Regions from separate parts of the Homo sapiens genome. Here region 1 is linked to region 2. The links are contacts of gene promoters, found by promoter capture Hi-C in blood cells and fetal thymus (Javierre and others, 2016). All regions are on one chromosome and are shown on one strand. The core of a region is centred on a gene start or on the middle of the fragment in contact, and the rest is flanking DNA. Distances in the headings are between cores, read along the strand shown.

Region 1 (2,700 bases), core at 110-2,609, 430 kb after region 2:
AGCTGGGACTGGAGGCATGCACCACCATGCCCAGCTAATTTTTGTATTTTTATTAGGGACGAGGTTTCACCATGTTGGCCAGGCTGGTCTCGAATTCCTGACCTCATGTGATCTGCCCACCTTGGCCTCCCAAAGTGCTGGGATTACAGGCATGAGCCACTGTGCCCCTCCCGAGATGACACTTTCTAACTTAGGCAAGCACCACATCTATAAGAGGTGGTTCTAGGCCACATACAGATTCAAGGACTAGAATTGAATGAGTATTTGAGAAGCAGAAGAATTAGAGCCAAAGGCCAGAGCCTTTTTTTTTTTTTTTTTTTTTTTTGAGACTGAGTCTCGCTCTGTTGCCCAGGCTAGAGTGCAATGGTGCAATCTCAGCTCACTGCAACCTCTGCCTCCTGGATTCAAGCAGTTCTCGCACCTGAGCCTCCCGAGTAGCTGGAATTACAGACATGAGCCACCACGCCCGGCTAATTTTTGTATTTTTAGTAGAGACGGGGTTTCACCATGTTGGCTAGGCTGGTCTCAAACTCCTGTCCTCAGGTGATCCAACTGCCTCAGCCTCCCAAAGTGCTGGGATGACAGGTGCAAGCCACTGTGCCTGGCATAGCAGATCTTCTTCTAGGTGCAGGGGCTACAACAATAATTAAAATCAGGCTTTCTGTCCTCAGGAAGGCCACAGTTTTAGCATTTGTGCATAAAATGATACCTTATATTATAGTACCATTTACTTAGCTTCTAATATATTCATGACATTACATATTCTCATTAAACTTAACTTAGAATTTTGGAGTTTTATTGTTACTTGTCAAAATGATTTTGTGTATAGAAATAAATAGGATATGTACATTGTTAAATAATATTCTGGGAGGCAAATGCCAGTGCATACATATTCTAAGGCATCAACAATTAAAGTTACACAATAGCATTGCAAGAATAGATCTATTAATTTTTTTATAAAAGGAATTATTCCTTATGTAATAAGGAAGTAACTTGAAATGGACTGTTTATAAGAATCTAATGTATGACAAAGTAGGAAACCCAAGACAATAGAAAAAAGATTGTTTATTAAATAACCTATTAATAATTTGAAAAATAACCAGCCTGGCCGACATGGTACAACCTCATTTCTACTAAAAGTACAAAAATTAGCTGGGCGTTGTGACACACATCTGTCGTCCCAGCTACTGGGGAGGCTGAGGCAGGAGAATCCCTTGAACCCAGGAGGCGGAGATTGCAGTGAGCCAAGATCATGCCACTGCATTCCAGCCTGGGCAACAGGAGAGACTCCATCTCAAAAATAATAATAATTTGAAAAACAAATTAAGGTTCCTACATTAATACATATACTACAAATAAAATCAGAGCTAAATATGAAGAATTATAAAACTGGCTATTTATTGAAACTCTAAAATGAGGACAGGATGAAAGATAGTTTTGTAGGCCCAGAAAAATTAATTATAAAGGAATATATATATATATATATATACATATATATATATATATCTTTTTTTTTTTTTGAGACGGAATTTTACTCTTATTACCCAGGCTGGAGTGCAATGATGTGAACTCAGCTCACTGCAACCTCCACCTCCTGGGTTCAAGGGGTTCAAGTGATTCTCCGGCCTCAGCCTCCCTAGTAGCTGGGATTACAGGTGCCTGCCGCCATGCCCGGCTAATTTTTTGTATTTTCAGTAGAGACAGGGTTTCACCATGTTGGCCAGTCTGGTCTCAAACAACTGACCTCAAGTGATCTGCCCGCTTCGGCCTCCCAAAGTGCTGGGATTACAGGGGTGAGCCACAGCAGCCAGCCTGTAAATGAAAATATTGACACTTTTCATTTCATTTTATTTATTTTATTTTTTGAGGCACATTTGCACCATTATAATAACATTAAAATATTATAAAAGTTTAAAATACAGTCAAAGTAAAAAGGCAAACAGCACATCAGAAAATATACCTCTAGGAAATTTTCATTTCAGCACAAATACTAAAAATAGACATCTAGACTAAAAATATGAACAAATATAATAACTTAGAAAAAAAGAGCACATAATAAATATATAGTGGTGTATTGTGTCCTTCGAATGATAACTATCAAATAAAACAGTTACCAATTCTATTAGCAATAAAAAACTGCAGCACACAAAATTGGCATTTACTGAAACTGTTATTCTCATATATTTGTATTAAAAGTTTCACATCCCTTTAGGAAAGGTTTTTTGTGATATGTATCAAGCACCCAAAAATAATTTAATATTTTATTTTATTTCATTTTATTTTTGAGGTGGAGTTTCACTCTGTCACCCAGGCTAGAGTGCAGTGGTGCGATCTCGGCTCACTGCAACCTCTGCCTCCGGAGTTTAAGCAATTCTCCTTGCCTCAGCCTCCCGAGTAGCTGGGACTATAGGCGCACACCACCATGCCCTACTAATTTTGTATTTTTAGTAGAGACAGGGTTTCGCTATGTTGGCCAGGCTGGTCTTGAACTCCTGACCTCAGGTGATCCACCTCCTTCACCCTCCCAAAGTGCTGGGATTACAGACATGAACCACCATGCCCAGCCTAAAATTTTTTTTAACTTTAATTTTTTTCTATATCACAAATCATGAAGCAAAAAAAATAAAAAATAAATAAATAAATAAATAAATTATTCTCCCTGATCCCAAGAAAAGAATCTGAAATATGGAAGAAGGCATG
Region 2 (2,972 bases), core at 111-2,610:
CTCCAACCTGGGTGACAGAGCGAGACTCTGTCTCAAAAAAAAAAAAAAAAAGAAAAGAAAAGAAAAGAAAAACTGAGTATAGGGTGGAGGTGGAGTGGATGTTTATGTTTAAAAAGGGGGAGAAATGGACTCACTTCACAATTTTGCTTCCATTTATACCTAAACCCTGGGGCTCAGGGTTTCAGTTTCCAGTAGGCCTATGTTGGAAATTCACCTGCAAGGTACAAGTTTCCCTGACAGACCACCAAATAAACAATGGTCTTTTAAAAACAAATCAACTTTGGTACCATCTACTCAGCTGGCATTTACCTTCCTTACCTGCTACCAACCTCATTCTTAGAATTAAAGAAAAAAGGCGAATTCTAAAGCCCCTTCTACTCACTTTCCTCCACTAAGGCCATAGCTTACATCTGCTGCTCTTTTTTCCATACTCCTTTTTTCTCAACTCCTTTCTTTCATATTTGCCAGAAATTTAAGGTCGTTTGGGTTCCTCTCATTTAAAAAGTTCAACTGAAGTGTGTTGCTACACCTTAATCAAAAGTTTATGGCTGAGTTATTTAGCGTTTCTTTACCCACTTCCTCTGCTCAATCCTTCATCTCCTCATAACCATTGAAATGAATGCTATGAATATCTCAATGCTTAGCATGGTGCCAGGCATTTAGGTGTTGAAAAAAATGTTAAGCGAATATTAGTTATTAGGTAAGAGCATTGTCTGTAAAACTCTGAAAAGTCTTAAAAGTGATTCCTAAAATTTCACAAGCTCATAAATTCTTTAGTCTGCAATTATGATTCCTGAAATATTCTTCGATTCATGAAAGACTGGACTAGGAAATTCTAAAAATCGACATAAAGCATAAAAAGCCACTCTGAGGTTTATGAAATTTACAATGTTTTGTCTTCTTTTAATTCATTCGTACTTTTCTCTCAGGATACAAAGGGCAAAACTGTTTGTGTAGTAACTCAGAATTGAGTAGTTACACATCCATTAGGTTTCAGAATCGTTAAAATTTTATCTGGTTTAGGAAACTGCTTACCTTGGAAGGGCAAATTGCCATTTCTCTCCATCTGGGGATCAGGGAAGCAAGGGAAGCCCCCCTAAACATCACTTCCACGCTCCTATATTATGCTAAGGAACTTCTGGTTGATTCATTAGGCATTTCAGCAGTGTTTTTGGCCGGTACTAGGAACTGTGGAGAGGTATAGAAAGGGAGCAAGTGCACAGTCCCGGCCCCCAAAGAGGTTACGATGCAAATAGAAGCAGGCTCAGAACTCGGAACAAAAGCAGTGACTGCATAATAATGCACTGCTGGGGGTGGGGGATGGGGATCTGCACGCCCGGTTTGTGACTTCAGGAAAGCAGTTTCCAGGAGGTGAGAGTTTAAGCCAAACCTGAAAGAGGTTGATTTGTAATGATTTGCAGGGGGGCACTGGAGGCAGCCGCCAGGACTTTTCACTTAGGAGATCAGCATTTGCCCTGATGGAAACTGGGCGATCCTGCAGGGACTGACCTCTGAGTTATCCAAAGGCCGACCTGGGGAAAGACTGATTTTGAGGTTTTAATAGGTAAGTTTGGGGACATCATTGATGAAGGTGGGCAGGGAAGGAGGCTTTTTTCTTTTCTTTTTTTTAATGTTACAGTAAAAAGCTTAGATTCGATGAGACGGGTTAAAAAACAAATAGGAAAATTTAAGGAGAAGAATGACTATGATTGCTATGTAAAAATAAAATTGCAATAGAGAGGTTCTGGAGCTCAGGAAATGAGCTAGAGCATGCTATAATTTAGGCCTAGATAGTGAAGATCATGAATAAAATGGTAGCTGAGGAAATTTCAAAGTTGAATAAGTAGTAATAAGTATGAAGAAAAAGCTAAACTACAAACATCTGCTCTTTAATTACTAACACTAGTAATGAGAATTTGTCTCCAGCCTCTTCCCTTCCCACTCCGCACCTCTTCCTAGCTTACATCATTGTATTAAGGCATTTTATTGAAGACACTATTCAGCACTCTCCACCTATGCCTTACACAGCTTGCCTTTGCTTTTCTTCCCATTTCACTTTTTCTCTTCATTTATTCACATCATTTTAGTCCTTAAAAGACCCCGCCCAATTACTAGATCAGAGGGAGGCAACTAAGACTCTTCCTATCTCCCAAACGACCTTCCAGAATGGTTTTATGGCATTATAATAGGAAAGCAAGAGTTTTGATTTTTCTATTATTAATATTTTGCTTTCAAGGAATTACAGGAAAAACCATATTGCATGCCAGAAATACTTAAATTTTAAATATTTCATCTTAAGAGATGCCCTCATGTAATGCTTTTAATGCATTTGAGAAATTCAGGTGGTGGGCAAAAGTACAACATAGAGGTTAGATGTTTTGAGTGGGAGAAGTGCACTGGGGTCATTATTGAATCAGAATTATTATGCACTTAAATATATAGAAAAAAGAACAAAATGAGTATTAAACTATGCAAATTCATCCCTTTAATCTTTATTTGCATGACTACATTTTATGCAGTTGTAACCTTAATGTACATATTTGGTATTTTTTTCAAACATGAATTGATTAGACATTGTTGCTATTTTGTATCTATTTTGTTAACATAAGAACTTCCTGTGTTATATCAGATTTTTTTTTTTTTTTTTTTTTTCTGAGACGGAGTTTCGCTCTTGTTGCTGCCCAGGCTTGAGTGCAATTGTGGATCTAGGCTCACCACAACCTCCGCCTCCTGGGTTCAAGCGATTGTCCTGTCTCAGCCTACCGAGTAGCTGGGATTACAGGTGCCCGCCACCAGGCCCGGATAATTTTTGTATTTTTAGTAGAGACAGGGTTTCACTATGTTGGCCAGGCTGCTCTCGAACTCCTGACCTCAGGTGATCCACCCGCCTTGGCCTCCCAAAGTGCTGTGATTACAGGCGTGAGCCACTGCGCCCGGCCTCTATGTCAGACCTTAATTAGCCATTTCCTGTT

The links. The method cuts DNA at HindIII sites, captures the fragments that hold promoters and counts their contacts. A CHiCAGO score of 5 or more calls a contact.
Region 1: a contact is called between a fragment that was not itself captured here and the fragment with the promoter of USP44 in region 2, in 9 of 17 cell types (total CD4 T cells, non-activated CD4 T cells, erythroblasts and 6 more). The highest score is 10.1, in total CD4 T cells.

The regions. Positions count from the first base shown.
Region 1 is chr12:95,120,271-95,122,970 of GRCh38, reverse strand. The region is part of intron 8 of FGD6 (FYVE, RhoGEF and PH domain containing 6); the gene reads left to right. Among named protein-coding and RNA genes, the nearest start is that of NR2C1, 48 kb to the right of the region's middle. The HindIII fragment of the contact is 9,066 bases long and covers 1-2,700 here.
Region 2 is chr12:95,549,864-95,552,835 of GRCh38, reverse strand. USP44 (ubiquitin specific peptidase 44) reads left to right here and starts at 1,360. Exons shown (of 6, transcript NM_032147.5): 1 at 1,360-1,564. The HindIII fragment of the contact is 4,508 bases long and covers 1-1,648 here.